Regions from separate parts of the Homo sapiens genome. Here all the other regions are linked to region 1. Evidence: promoter capture Hi-C in 16 types of primary human blood cells and fetal thymus (Javierre and others, 2016). All regions are on one chromosome and are shown on one strand. Each heading gives the region's core, a stretch centred on a gene start or on the middle of the fragment in contact. The rest is flanking DNA. Distances are from core to core; before and after follow the strand shown. Region 1 holds the start of PCDHB7 (protocadherin beta 7). Region 2 overlaps PCDHGA1 (protocadherin gamma subfamily A, 1). Region 3 holds the start of PCDHGC5 (protocadherin gamma subfamily C, 5). Region 4 overlaps PCDHA1 (protocadherin alpha 1). Region 5 overlaps PCDHGA1 (protocadherin gamma subfamily A, 1).

Region 1 (2,700 bases), core at 36-2,535:
AATTTGCAAACTAGATAAAATGATTTTCAAAATAAAATGCAAGTTACTTAAAAATACAAAACCTGAACAGATTAATAACCAAAGGTAAAATGTAAATGGTAGTCACTGATCTACTGCAAGTGAAGTCACCAAACCCAACCAGTTTAAAAGACAAGCTGGAATTAAGCATGTAGAAACATATAATAATATAATTATTAAAACTATTGTATAAAATAGATAAAAAGCTCCCTAACACATTCTATGATGCCAGTATAATAGTTTAATACCAAGGCCATAAAAGGCAAACACGCACTAGGTAAACAACATTAACTAGAAAAATCCTAAAACCATGTTGACACATCATATCTATCTGTGCACTAAAACAATAATACATTATGGTTAAATGTCATTTATATCAATAACTCAGTAATTTAGAAACTAAAGAATAAATGTATTATTTCAACAGCTATCAAAAATCACTTCAAAATATGAAAGAATAAAAAGAAAACTTTATTGATTCAAAAAAGGAATATTTACCCCAAATTGAGATCAACCATCATAGTTGAAGATGAAATGCTAGAAGCACTTCCACAAATGCAAGATTGACCAACTTGCTACTACTAATTTTAAGAGTATTCATTGGACATTGGAGATTCTAGTCACTGAAATTATAGAGGAACAATAATTTCTTATGTAATACTTAAATCAGGTGAAGGATGAAGGTTGGGTTTGGGGGAGGCATAAAGTGTTCCAAGAAATATCACAGGTAAAGAGTTAAGACCTGGAAAGTGGAATAATTGTTTAATTCACAAGAAATTGGGAAAAGGGTCAATTATTCTGCCATATTCACATTATTATTGTTAAATACTTTACAAATAAATAAAATGTCCCCAACCAATATTTGTTGACTTCAAGGAGGAGGTTTCATTTTCTCATATATATTTTTACTATCCATTTTTAAAATAGGAGATTTTCTTAGGATTTCGGTGGGGAGTCAGAGTTTAGTTTCATGCTCCTAGATTTAAGAAGACTATAAATTAATTCTTCTACGAATCCAGATTATCACAGGGGAAAACGACATCAGCTATTACTTACTAGCATTACTGTGACCATTTGAGGATAAAGATGGAATGAAACAGCAAAGATACCGGGGACAAATCATTCTTGTTGCAGAATTCCTTCAATCCGCCATCTTTTTGTTCTAGTCTTGATAACGGGAATAACATCCACAAAACGCAAGGTGGCGCTGCTGGCTAAAAAGAGAGAGAGAAAAATAATTTCACAAAGAAAGGATGTTACAGATTCCAGAGCAAAGAGGCAATCTGAAGAGAAAAGCATAGGAAAGGAAACAGTGGTAATAGGAATTGGGGTAAAATGAGGATCCTTCCCCACAAACATTGCTATTATTCAGCTCATTTCAAAGGATTCCGCTGCTGCCATTTGTGAGAGCCGCTGGAGGCTGAGTGAAAGTCATTTTGAAAGACTGATCCAAAGAAGAATGGAGGCCAGAGTGGAGCGTGCTGTGCAGAAAAGGCAAGTCTTATTTCTTTGTGTATTTCTGGGAATGTCTTGGGCTGGCGCCGAACCGCTTCGGTATTTTGTGGCGGAGGAAACCGAGAGAGGCACCTTTCTTACCAACTTGGCAAAAGACCTAGGGTTAGGGGTAGGGGAACTGAGAGCCCGGGGAACTAGAATTGTTTCAGACCAGAACATGCAAATTTTACTGCTCAGTTCGCTTACTGGTGATCTACTTCTAAATGAGAAATTGGACCGAGAGGAACTGTGTGGCCCCAGAGAGCCCTGTGTGCTGCCTTTCCAGTTGTTATTGGAAAAACCTTTTCAGATTTTCCGTGCTGAACTATGGGTCAGAGACATCAATGATCACGCTCCAGTATTTCTAGACAGAGAGATTTCCTTGAAAATATTAGAAAGTACCACTCCAGGGGCGGCATTTCTCCTAGAGAGTGCACAGGATTCAGATGTTGGAACCAACAGCCTGAGTAACTACACCATCAGCCCCAATGCCTATTTCCATATTAATGTCCATGATAGCGGGGAGGGGAATATCTATCCCGAATTGGTGCTGAATCAAGTGCTGGATCGGGAAGAGATACCAGAGTTCAGTTTAACCCTCACCGCTTTAGACGGCGGCTCTCCTCCAAGATCAGGGACCGCCCTCGTGCGCATTCTGGTTCTAGACGTAAATGACAACGCCCCTGATTTTGTGCGGTCGCTCTACAAGGTGCAGGTGCCCGAAAATAGCCCCGTTGGTTCCATGGTTGTCTCCGTGTCAGCCAGAGATTTAGATACCGGAAGTAATGGGGAAATAGCCTATGCATTTTCTTACGCCACTGAAAGAATTCTCAAAACGTTTCAAATCAATCCAACATCTGGCAGTCTTCATCTTAAAGCGCAATTGGACTATGAGGCAATTCAAACTTACACATTAACTATTCAGGCCAAAGACGGCGGCGGGCTTTCTGGAAAATGCACTGTAGTGGTTGATGTAACAGATATAAACGATAATCGACCCGAGCTGCTCCTGTCTTCACTTACTAGCCCAATTGCAGAAAACTCACCCGAGACAGTCGTGGCTGTTTTTAGGATTAGAGACAGAGATTCCGGGAACAATGGAAAGACAGTGTGCTCCATCCAGGACGATGTCCCCTTCATCCTGAAGCCATCTGTCGAAAACTTCTATACTCTGGTAACAGAGAAACC
Region 2 (2,700 bases), core at 163-2,662, 290 kb after region 1:
TAATAATGTTTTTATTGGACAGCAGACATTGTAAATGTTATATTTTTGAGTGTTTGGATTTTGTCTTTCTTTAAGAACTATTGCAGTTTGTTTTGGAAGGCTATTATGTTTTTTGCAGATCAGGTTGATCTTTTCAAGGCTTGTTTTTAAGCTTTGTTAGGACAGGTCTGTAGTAACTTTTGCCTTGGGCTAATTTAGACCTACCACTTAATTCTGACTTTTTTGATTAATCTGAGTGTTCAGCAGGGTCTCTTTATTATGGCTAAATGAAATTCAAACATTTTCCAGCCCTATGTGACCATCAAGAATTCAGCTAATAGCTCCCTGGCAGTTCTTCGCCCAGCTGCAGAAAAGTGTCAGTGCACTCTATGTATGCTCAGATTATTATTTAGCCAAAGACTTGGGGATCCATATTAATATTCCTGGAGTTCTTTGTGTAGCTCCATTCTCTTTAGTACTCTATCCCATAAATTCTGGCTGCCTCAATCTCCTAATCTCCCCAAACTCTAATATCTATTCCTCAACTCAGCAAAACCATGGTGTTATTCTTGGATTTCCCCTTTCCTGCCCCACAGTCTGAAAGTTGTCTCCAGGCAAAAAAAATGGAGATCCTAGTTTGCGGATCCTCATTTCCTTCTCCTTTTTTTTTTTTTTTTTTTTTTTTTTTTGAGATGGAGTCTCGCTCTGTCACCCAGGCTGGAGTGACGTGGCGTGATCTCGGCTTACTAGAAACTCCGGCTCCCGGGTTCATGCCATTCTCCTGCCTCAGCCTCCCGAGTAGCTGGGACTACAGGTGCCTGCCACCATGCCCGGCTAATTTTTTGTATTTTGTTTAGTAGAGACGGGGTTTCACCGTGTTAGCCAGGATGGTCTGGATGACCTCGTGATCTGCTCACCTCGGCCTCCAAAAGTGCTGGGATTACAGGCATGAGCCACCGCGCCCGGCCTGCTTCTCTTCTCTTATGGGTTAGAATCCTGCACTGTCTTTTGAACAAATGTCTAAAAGCTTTTATCACACATTTTGATCCACTTCCCAGTTGTTATAGTGGTATATCTGGTTTCACATGACTGAAAGGAAAAGTTTTCACCTTGCTTTTTGTACTAATAATATATCCTGGAAATCATTCTATATAAATTTATAGAAATCTTCATTTTTAAAATAGCTTCATAAAACTCCATTGTAAAAACCAGGTGCAGTGGCTCATGCTTGTAATCCCACACTTTGGGAGGCCAAGGCGGGTGGATCACCTGAGGTCAGGAGTTCAAGGCCAGCCTGGCCAACATGGTGAAACTCCGTCTCTACTAAAAATACAAAAATTAGCTGGGTGTGGTGGTGGGCGCCTGTAGTCCCAGCTACTTGGAAGGCTGAGGCAGGAGAATTGCTTGATTTCAGGAGGCGGAGATTGCAGTGAGCTGAGATTGCGCCACTGCACTCCAGCCTGGGCTACAGAGCGAGACTCCGTCTAAAAAAAAAAAAAAGCAAAAAAAAAAACTCCATTGTATGTGCACATATCATTATCTGTTCAACCCATCTATGACTTGTCATTTAGGTAGTTTCCATCCAATATTTTTGCAATATAAAAAATGCTAATGAAGAACCTGAGATATATATATATCTATATATATAGATATATATGTTTGTTGTTGTTGTTGTTATTTTTGAAGTATGTACGTATAATAAATTCCTAATAGTGTGATTGCTGCATCATAAGGTAAAGGCATATGTAGTTTTGTTAAATATAGCTATTCCCCATCTTGCATTCCTACAAATAGATGAGAATGTCCATTGTCCCATAGTCTCCTTTGCAGAGTATATTGTCAAGCTTTTTAATTGTTGCCAACCTGATGGGTAAAAAGATATCTCCAAATAATTTTAATTAAAATTTCTCTTATTATGAATGAGGTTAAATAGTTTTTCATATGTTTAAAAGCCAGTTTATATCTTTTTGTTTTTTTAGAGACAGGAATCTTGTTCTGTTGCCCAGGCCAAATTGCAGTGATGCAGTCATAGCTCACTGTAGCCTCGCACTCCTGGGCTCAAGCAATCCTCCTACCTTAGCCTCCCAAGTAGCTAGGACTACAGATGGATGCCACCATGTCCAGCTAATTTTTTTATTTTTTTGTAGAGATGTGAGGTCTCACTATGTTGCCCAGGCTTGTCTTGAACTACTGGCTTCAAGTGATCCTCCCACCTCAGCCTCCCAAAGTGCTAAGATTACAGCCATGAACCACCACAAATGACCCTATATATTTTTTTGAATTGTCTGTTCATGTCTTATTTTCATTTTTCTAGTAGTTTTTTTTTTAAGTGTTTTAGCCTAAATTTGTAAAAAGTTTAGGGGATATATGAAGGGACTCTAAATGTTTATGAAGAAATTTAATTAAAAGATAAAAATAAAAATATAAGCTTTATTTTTCAACATGAGCTCCATCAAGTTCAAGGCACTTTTGTAAGCAATGATACTAGCCATTTAGTTCACCCCTAAAGAACTGAGAGTCCTGGGAATTTAGCCATGTCAATGCAGTATTTTTTATATTGGTTACTGAAGAAAAAATGGGTGCCCTTTAAAGTTGTAAGATTAGGAACAAAAACAAGTCAGAAGAAGCCAAATCAGCACTGAAAGGTGGGCACTTAATGATTACCCAAGAAAACTCTCACCAAATTGCCCTTGCTTCATGAGAGGAATGAGCGGGAGCATT
Region 3 (2,700 bases), core at 52-2,551, 320 kb after region 1:
CTTCTGCACCCACTCGGAGTGATAGCTTCATGATGGTGAAGTCACCCAGTGCACCTATGGCAGGGGAGCCTGTTCGCCCAAGCTGCCCACCCTCTGATCTTCTCTATGGGCTAGAGGTGAGACCTTTGCAGGCTCAACAAATGCTTGAGGGTTATTCTGATCCAGGCATATGGCTAGGCCATGTCCTAGAGAGTACTGGCCTCTCAGTAAGTGCCCATAGTGATGTCACCATTTTTGTAAGAGGTAACTATGTGGTAGACGCTGTGCTTTGTAACTGTTTCGTGAATTAACCAGAGTTGTCACAGTTTAGCATTGGGGGCGGGTCATGCCTATATCTGAGTAAGAAATGAAAGTAATTGGTGATCAAGAGCCAGGCTGTTGTGGAAGCATGATGATGGAATGTGGGAGCACAGGAGGCTACAGTGCACAGGGTACAGTGCACCAGGCAGTCACTTGGACAAAGGTGGCTGTTTTCTCTACTCTTCCTGAAAGAGGGGATCAGATTCTGAAGTACCTTAACTCTAGGTTACCATTTCCCAAGGGATTGAGGGGAAATAAAATCTTTGTCTCCCAGTATCTAGTACACTGTGAAGGGACCTCTCTATTTGAAACATAGAGACAGCAGAAAGAGGAGAGAACTAAAGGAATAGAGAGGCACGCATCAGAGTGGTGGCATAGATCTTTTGGTCTGGGTCTTAGGACTCATATCAAGTCCCTACTGGGGATTTGAACTAGATGCGGTAAATTGGAAGGTTGGGGCGGGTTGGTCATCACCTTTGGAAAAAACAGTAAGTGAAATCACTTATGTCAGAAAACTGGTTTACAGTTGGCTGATTCATAGAAACAGCCACCCTGTGCATCTTTAAGTTGAGTTCTCCTGAATTTGGTGAAACCATGAAACCTAGAAGCCAAGCCATCCATGCTTGGCCTCTGACCACCCTCCTGGGTGACCTGATTCAGCCCCAGAAATGTTCCCCTACCCAAAAACTGTAACACTCATTCCACATTTGGGGTCTGGGGTGTCAGAAAAGCTAAGTCCCATGTCAGCTGACATTGAGATTTCCGCAAAGCATTGCTGGAGAGTCAGGGCAAGACTTTACAAGGTTCTTACTAATCTTTTCTCTCACCTTAGCAGCATTCAGCAGGATGGGGGAGGGTGGGGGAATACATGGGCTTTGCCTCTCCCAGAAGGACAAGATTTTGCTGGTTCAAGCAAAGTGGTGGAAGCTTCTGAAGTCATGCAGGAAGTTGCTGGGACAGAACGCTGAGGAGTTTTGTATCACTTTGTCTTCCCTGTTGAGTACCATCTGAGCTGTCAAACTTTGCTGCCAAGGGGGCTGAATCAACCTGCAGCACGAAGTGAGTGGGGAGGTAGGAAGCTTCTGTGACACAGATTTGCAGCCTGTGTTCCCAAGGTTTCCAGGATTGAGGAAACTCCATAATTGGTTGAGAGCACACAGACTTTTTGGCCAATCAGACTCAGAGCTGAGGTGGGAGATCTGCTCTTCCAGCCCGCCTCTCCTCCTCCAGCTCCCCAGCTCCACTCAAATTCAGCTCCCCTCCCCCCTGCCCACCCCCGCCACTCGGTGACTAAGAACTGCTGCAAGCAGGCAAACCTCCGAGCAGTTTTTAAGAGGCTGGAAGGAGACATAAGAGACTTCAGCTGCTGCATTCCAAGCCCTGGGTCTACCTTGGAGACAGGACAGCACAGACTTACTCTCCACAAAGGGACTTCTGGGTCATGGGGCCCAAGACACTCCCACAGCTCGCTGGGAAATGGCAAGTGCTGTGCATGTTGTCCTTGTGCTGCTGGGGCTGGGTGTCTGGGCAGCTTCGTTACTCAGTGGTGGAGGAGTCTGAGCCGGGGACGCTGGTGGGGAATGTTGCTCAGGATCTGGGCTTAAAGATGACAGATCTGTTGAGCCGGCGGCTGCAATTGGGCTCTGAGGAGAATGGGCGCTATTTTTCCCTGAGCTTGATGAGTGGTGCCCTGGCAGTGAATCAAAAGATTGACCGAGAAAGCCTATGTGGAGCCAGCACCAGCTGCCTGCTGCCAGTGCAGGTGGTGACTGAACACCCCCTGGAGCTAATCCGTGTAGAGGTAGAGATCCTGGATCTCAATGACAACTCTCCTAGCTTTGCCACCCCTGAGCGAGAGATGCGCATCTCAGAATCAGCAGCATCTGGGGCACGATTCCCACTGGACAGTGCCCAGGATCCGGATGTGGGCACCAATACTGTGAGCTTTTACACTCTAAGCCCCAACAGCCACTTCTCTCTGAATGTGAAGACCCTAAAAGATGGGAAGCCATTCCCAGAGCTGGTGCTAGAGCAGCAGCTGGATCGTGAAGCCCAGGCAAGACATCAGCTGGTGCTTACTGCTGTGGATGGGGGGACCCCAGCCCGCTCAGGGACCACCCTTATCTCTGTCATCGTGCTGGACATCAATGATAATGCTCCAACCTTCCAATCCTCAGTTCTACGTGTGGGAATCCCAGAGAATGCACCCATTGGTACTCTGCTGCTCCGCCTCAATGCCACTGATCCAGACGAGGGCACCAACGGCCAACTAGACTATTCTTTTGGAGACCACACATCTGAGGCAGTGCGGAACCTCTTTGGCCTAGACCCTAGCAGTGGGGCAATCCATGTGTTGGGTCCCATAGACTTTGAGGAGTCACGTTTCTATGAAATTCATGC
Region 4 (2,700 bases), core at 5-2,504, 290 kb before region 1:
CAACCTGGATATTGACATTGATACAGTAAAGAAGTAACATAGTTCCGTAACAACCAGATTCTTGATATCACCTTTTTATAGCCACATCTGCTTCCCTGCCTAATGCTGGCAAGCAGTAATCTGTTCTCCATTTCTCTAATTTTGTTACTTTTACTTCAGAAATAAATAAAAGTATCTCTATTTATAGATAAAATTTTTTAAAATTATTTTTATATTTATTTATTTTTTATTACACTTTAAGTTCTGGGATACATGTGCAGAACGTGCAGGTTTGTTACATAGGTGTACATGCCATGGTGTGCTTATCTATTATCTGCATCACAAATATGTTTTCCTCCTATATTATTTCTATTCATTTGTTTGTACTAATTTTGTCATATATAAATGTTTTTAAAATGTATGAATTAAAATATATCTTTTTCCTTTTATGGATTTTAAGGTCTGCATATTCAGTTAGAAAGGTCTTCCCAGCTGGGCACGGTGGCTCACGCCTGTAATCCCAGCACTTTGGGAGGCCAAGGTGGGCGGATCAGGAGATCAGGAGTCCGAGACCAGCCTGGCCAACATGGTGAAACCCTGTCTCTACTAAAAATACAAAAATTAGCGAGGCATGGTGGCACGCGCCTGTAATCCCAGCTACTTGGGAGGCTGAAGCAAGAGAATTGCTTGAACCCGGGAGGTGGAGGTTGCAGTGAGATGAGATCATGCTACTGTACTCCAGCTCTGGGTGACAGAGCAAGACTTCGTCTTGAAAAAAAAAAAAAAAAAAAAGAAAGGTCTTCCCAACTCCTATATTGAACATTCATTAATTAAATGCATTTAATAAATACTTATTGAGTGTTCTCTATGTGCCAGGCATGTTCTACACATTAGACATTTAGCAACGAAATTTATTATTTTGTAAATCCAAATTTCCAGTTGGTATCACTTTCCTACTGCCTGAAAAATTTCTTTAATATTTTTTATAGTGCATATGTTCTGGCAACAAATTCACTCAGCTTTTGTCTGAGAAATATCTTTATCTCTTTTTTTTTTTTTGAGACGGAGTCTCACTCTGTCGCCCAGGCTGGAGTACAGTGGCGTGATCTCGGCTCACTGCAAGCTCCACCTCCCGGGTTCACGCCATTCTCCTGCCTCAGCCTCCCGAGTAGCTGAGACTACCGGCGCCCGCCACCACGCCCTGCTAATTTTTTGTATTTTTAGTAGAGATGGGGTTTCATCTTGTTAGCCAGGATAGTCTCGAACTCCTGACCTCGTGATCCACCTGGCTCGGCCTCCCAAAGTGCTGGGATTACAGGTGTGAGCCACCGCGCCCGGCTCTTTATCTCATTTTTATTTTTGAAAAAGTATTTTCACTGGGCATAGTTGACAGTTTTTTAAAAGATATAATTCAGTTGTCTTCTGGCTTGCATAGTTTCTAATAAGATGTTTGCTTTTTTATATATGAGTCTTCCTCTCCCCACCCCTCATGGTTACTGTTAAAACTTTTCTTTTTATCCTGACTTTTGCAGATTGATTGTGATGTGCTTTAGTATGGTTTTCTTTATGTTAGTCTGTTGGGGTTTGTTGATATTCTTGGATCTGTGGATTTATCATTTTCATCAAATTCAGGAAAAAATCAACCATACTTCTTCTAATAGTTTTTTCTTTCCTTCCATCCTTTCTGAGACTCCAGTAACACATATGTTACAATGACACAGGTCATTGAAGCGTTCTTTATTTTTGTCCATTTCTTTCTCTGTGCCTCATTTTGAATATCTTTTATTGACATATTTTCCAAGTTCACTAATTTTTCCTTTTGTAGTATCATATCTGTTAATCCTAAACAGTGTATTCTTCATTTCAGAGACCATATTTATTTCTTATCTGTATAAGATTCTTTTTGTCTCTTTTAAAATTTATTTTACATGTCTCCACCGAATAGTCATCTTTTTATCTATATGTTTGAGCATATTAGTACATGTATAATAGATGTTTTAACTTTCTTGTCTGCTAATTTCAACATTTTTGTCCTTAGTTTGCTTCTTTTAATCTATCTTCTTCTATGGATATATTTTCTTGCTGTTTTGCATGACTGGTAATCTCTAATAAGATGCTAGACATTGTGAATTTTACATTGTCGGATGCTGGATTTTGTGTGTGTGTGCATGTGTGTGCGTGTTCCTTTAAAGCAGTAGTTCTTGATAAGAAACAGTTTTGTCCCCTCTACCCCCTACCCAGGAGATAATTTGGCAATGCCTGGATACATTTTTGGTTATTACAACTAGGGAATTGCTACTGGCATCTAATAATGGAGCTCTGAGATGCTGCTAAACACCATCCAATTGCTGCCAAACATCCTACCGTGCACAGGACAGCCGCCCAACAATAAAGAATTAGCTCAAAATGTCAGTAGTTCCACTGTTGAGAAACTCTGCTTTAAAGAGTCTTGGACTTAGTTCTGACGTGAAGTTAAGTTGCTCAGTACCAATTTATTCCTTTCAAGGCTTCATTTTAAGATTTGTTAGTACACATTCAGAGCAGCTTTTAGTGTAGCACTAATTCGGCCTTCTATTACAGCAATACTTTCCTGAGGACACCACCTAATGCCCTGTGCATTAAGAGGTCTCTCTTCTCTGATTGGTAGGAATGTGAAATATTTCCAGCCCTTTGTGAGCTCTAGGAATTATTCTACCCACTTTTTTTTTTAATTTTGAAGGG
Region 5 (2,700 bases), core at 118-2,617, 270 kb after region 1:
GACCCCAAAATGATCCTGTCTGAGTCTTTCCCACGGATGTCTATCCCGCGCTAAGCCCCAGGTTTCTGGGTAACTGTAGCTCTATGATGCCATATTCCTACCAGGTGTGTGCTTCTCCTACGAATCCAGGGCTGAGTGAACTTCTTTTTTGAATCCCTACCCCTCAGGACTCAATAGCAGTTTCACTGCAGAAAGCCCCTTGGGGAAGGGGATGATTGTGATTATTCTAATTGCTTGGGCAGAATCCACTCTCCAAGGTGAAAAATTCTTGATGAAACTAAGTTCAGTCACAAGCAGGTTTTCTTCTAGCATTAAATATTTTCAGAGATCTCAGTAAAAAGCATTTCTAGCAGCAAGACCAAAGGCCTAAGATGAGAAATATTTGGCATGGTGAGCTTGAGGGACAGTAGTCAGGCAGACAAGAGTATCAGACATGCCAGAGCATTTGGGGCCTGTAGGTAAGGAGCATGTTTTGATTATATATATTTGTATGTGTTTGATTATATTTTATAATTTTACTTTGATATTCAAATTGTACTGATCCAAAAATAAGGGAGGGACAAATCTTGGCCATTGTAGTATGAGAGATGTAAATTTACAACTCAGAATCCCTGCTTATCACTTCTCCTTCAGCACACAACTGTTTCATTTTCTATTTAAGAAACTTCCTCTCACTGCAAAAAGACATTCTGGCTGATAAAGTTAGCCTATAATTTCAGTAAATCTAAGAATATGACTAATGGAAGTTGCCAGACCTAAACTTTGAAAATTATTGTTCCACTGAAGAGCGTCTTATGACTGAGTGTTCCAGTCTCCTTCTCAAGCTGAACCTTGCTTTTCAAACCAGATTAAGAACACTATCATAAGTTATACTGCATTTTATTTCCCTACCCATGTCCACTGCATCATTCTCTATAGTACAAAGAGCTTGTCTCGCCAGGCGCATCTATAATCTTAGCACTTTGGGGCGCCAAGGCGGGTGGATCACTTGAGCCCAGGAGTTTGAGACCAGCCTGGACAGCATGGCAAAAACCCATCTCTACAAAAAAAAAAAACAAAAATTAACAAGGTTTAGTGGTCCATGCCTGTGGTCTCAGCTACTTGGGAGGCTGAGGTGTGAGGATCACCTGAGTCTGGGGAGATTGAAGCTGCAGTGAGCTGTGGTTGCGCTCCTGTACTCCAGTCTGGGTGACAGAATTAGACCCTGTCCCAAAACAAACAAACAAATAAAGAGCTTCTCTCCTTATGACTTATTTAAAGCTTGGGAAATTGTTCCAATTCAAATGCTTTAAATGGACTTGAGCTAAAACAGAATGTGGTATATGAAATGTTCTTATAATCAGGTGATTGTAAAAATTGATCCAGATAATGTTAGCATAGCATTTTACTGAACTAGTAGTTTACAAACACTTCAAAAATTATAGAATAACATTTGCATATAAAATTCCTCATACATTTCCCTATCAGTGAATTGGAAGCTTACAATATACAATATTACCAAAAAGACAAAAAAAATGAAAAGGAAACAGTTACCTTTGGAAAACATAATTAGGTAAAATGGGTAATATGGAAAGTCTGAAAACTGAAAAAATTACTGATAAGTCAAGAGAAAAGGAATATTAGTAGGAAAATTCATAAAAGTGTGTCTGACTACTCACAGCAGGTTTCCTTATTGGTATGTATTCTGTGGTCCATCTAAGCTATGTTAATTTTATTTTAAATGCTACCTGGGTATTGGCTTCTAAAAGGAATTCAGTAAATCAGATAATTTGGCATCTTCAATCTAGATTCTGATGCTCACCTGAAAAGTCTGCTAAGGATTGGAAACCAAGAAAAGTGAAGTATCTCAACAGATATGTGTCACTTGTGTGTACTGGATTTTTTTTTTTTTTTTTTTTTTTTTTTTTTTTTTTTGAGATGGAGTTTCACTCTTGTTGCCCAGGCTGGAGTGCAATGGCATGCTCTCGGCTCACTGCAACCTCCGCCTCCCAGGTTCAAGTGATTCTCCTGCCTCAGCCTCCCTAGTAGCTAGGATTACAGGCATGTGCCACCACGCCCAGCTAATTTTGTATTTTTAGTAGAGACGGGGTTTCTCCATGTTGGTCAGGCTAGTCTTGAACTCCCAACCTCAGGTGATCTTCCCTCCTTGGCCTCCCAAAGTGCTGGGATTACAGGCATGAGTCACTGCGCCCGGTCGCGTACTGGATTTATATTGTGTAATACTTTGCTCTAGCAGTATAGTAGGTGAGACAGTGACTGTGTCTAGTGAGCAAAAGGCACTTATTTGACACTTTTGACTCTTCCTTTCTACTTACCTTATTTAAAATTGATTTTTGCATGTGGCATGATGCACCAGTTCATTGAGGTAGGGGTTGAAGTTATTTCCCATTTTTTTCAATACCATTTATTAAAAATATTTTCCTCTTTCTGTTGAATTTGCTTGGTGCCTTTGTTGAAAGTCATTTCACTGATATATGTAGTTCTATTTCTATATTCTTGATCATGTTTCATTTGTCTATTCTTTTACTAATAGCACACTGTCTCAATTATTGTAGCTTTATAGTAAGTCTTGCTACAAAGTCTTACTACAGGACAAAGCTTGTAGGATTTTTGAATGGGATGGCATTGCATCTATACCTTTATCAGGGAAAGAGGGAAGGAGGGAGGAGGATCATCTTAACAATATTGACACTTCAAATC

The links. The method cuts DNA at HindIII sites, captures the fragments that hold promoters and counts their contacts. A CHiCAGO score of 5 or more calls a contact.
Region 2: a contact is called between a fragment that was not itself captured here and the fragment with the promoter of PCDHB7 in region 1, in 1 of 17 cell types (erythroblasts). The highest score is 6.8, in erythroblasts.
Region 3: a fragment that was not itself captured here is called in contact with the fragment with the promoter of PCDHB7 in region 1 in 5 of 17 cell types (non-activated CD4 T cells, naive CD4 T cells, naive CD8 T cells and 2 more); the score reaches 6.5 in non-activated CD4 T cells.
Region 4: a contact is called between a fragment that was not itself captured here and the fragment with the promoter of PCDHB7 in region 1, in 4 of 17 cell types (monocytes, M1 macrophages, M0 macrophages and 1 more). The highest score is 8.1, in monocytes.
Region 5: a fragment that was not itself captured here is called in contact with the fragment with the promoter of PCDHB7 in region 1 in 3 of 17 cell types (erythroblasts, fetal thymus and total CD4 T cells); the score reaches 6.1 in erythroblasts.

What each region holds. Positions count from the first base shown.
Region 1 is chr5:141,171,359-141,174,058 of GRCh38, forward strand. PCDHB7 (protocadherin beta 7) reads left to right here and starts at 1,286. Exons shown (of 1, transcript NM_018940.4): 1 at 1,286-2,700. The coding sequence starts at 1,478. It also overlaps PCDHB@. The HindIII fragment of the contact is 10,030 bases long and covers 1-2,700 here.
Region 2 is chr5:141,462,799-141,465,498 of GRCh38, forward strand. The region is part of intron 1 of PCDHGA1 (protocadherin gamma subfamily A, 1); the gene reads left to right. The region is part of intron 1 of PCDHGA2 (protocadherin gamma subfamily A, 2); the gene reads left to right. All of the region lies in intron 1 of PCDHGA3 (protocadherin gamma subfamily A, 3), which reads left to right. The region is part of intron 1 of PCDHGB1 (protocadherin gamma subfamily B, 1); the gene reads left to right. It also overlaps PCDHGA4, PCDHGB2, PCDHGA5, PCDHGB3, PCDHGA6 and PCDHGA7, and 10 more genes. Among named protein-coding and RNA genes, the nearest start is that of PCDHGC3, 12 kb to the right of the region's middle. The HindIII fragment of the contact is 817 bases long and covers 1,005-1,821 here.
Region 3 is chr5:141,487,500-141,490,199 of GRCh38, forward strand. The region is part of intron 1 of PCDHGA1 (protocadherin gamma subfamily A, 1); the gene reads left to right. All of the region lies in intron 1 of PCDHGA2 (protocadherin gamma subfamily A, 2), which reads left to right. The region is part of intron 1 of PCDHGA3 (protocadherin gamma subfamily A, 3); the gene reads left to right. The region is part of intron 1 of PCDHGB1 (protocadherin gamma subfamily B, 1); the gene reads left to right. It also overlaps PCDHGA4, PCDHGB2, PCDHGA5, PCDHGB3, PCDHGA6 and PCDHGA7, and 13 more genes. The HindIII fragment of the contact is 152 bases long and covers 1,226-1,377 here.
Region 4 is chr5:140,886,077-140,888,776 of GRCh38, forward strand. The region is part of intron 1 of PCDHA1 (protocadherin alpha 1); the gene reads left to right. All of the region lies in intron 1 of PCDHA2 (protocadherin alpha 2), which reads left to right. All of the region lies in intron 1 of PCDHA3 (protocadherin alpha 3), which reads left to right. All of the region lies in intron 1 of PCDHA4 (protocadherin alpha 4), which reads left to right. It also overlaps PCDHA5, PCDHA6, PCDHA7, PCDHA8, PCDHA9 and PCDHA10, and 4 more genes. Among named protein-coding and RNA genes, the nearest start is that of PCDHA13, 5.3 kb to the left of the region's middle. The HindIII fragment of the contact is 5,330 bases long and covers 1-2,700 here.
Region 5 is chr5:141,442,275-141,444,974 of GRCh38, forward strand. All of the region lies in intron 1 of PCDHGA1 (protocadherin gamma subfamily A, 1), which reads left to right. All of the region lies in intron 1 of PCDHGA2 (protocadherin gamma subfamily A, 2), which reads left to right. The region is part of intron 1 of PCDHGA3 (protocadherin gamma subfamily A, 3); the gene reads left to right. The region is part of intron 1 of PCDHGB1 (protocadherin gamma subfamily B, 1); the gene reads left to right. It also overlaps PCDHGA4, PCDHGB2, PCDHGA5, PCDHGB3, PCDHGA6 and PCDHGA7, and 11 more genes. Among named protein-coding and RNA genes, the nearest start is that of PCDHGA12, 13 kb to the left of the region's middle. RefSeq lists an enhancer at 1-152. The HindIII fragment of the contact is 218 bases long and covers 1,259-1,476 here.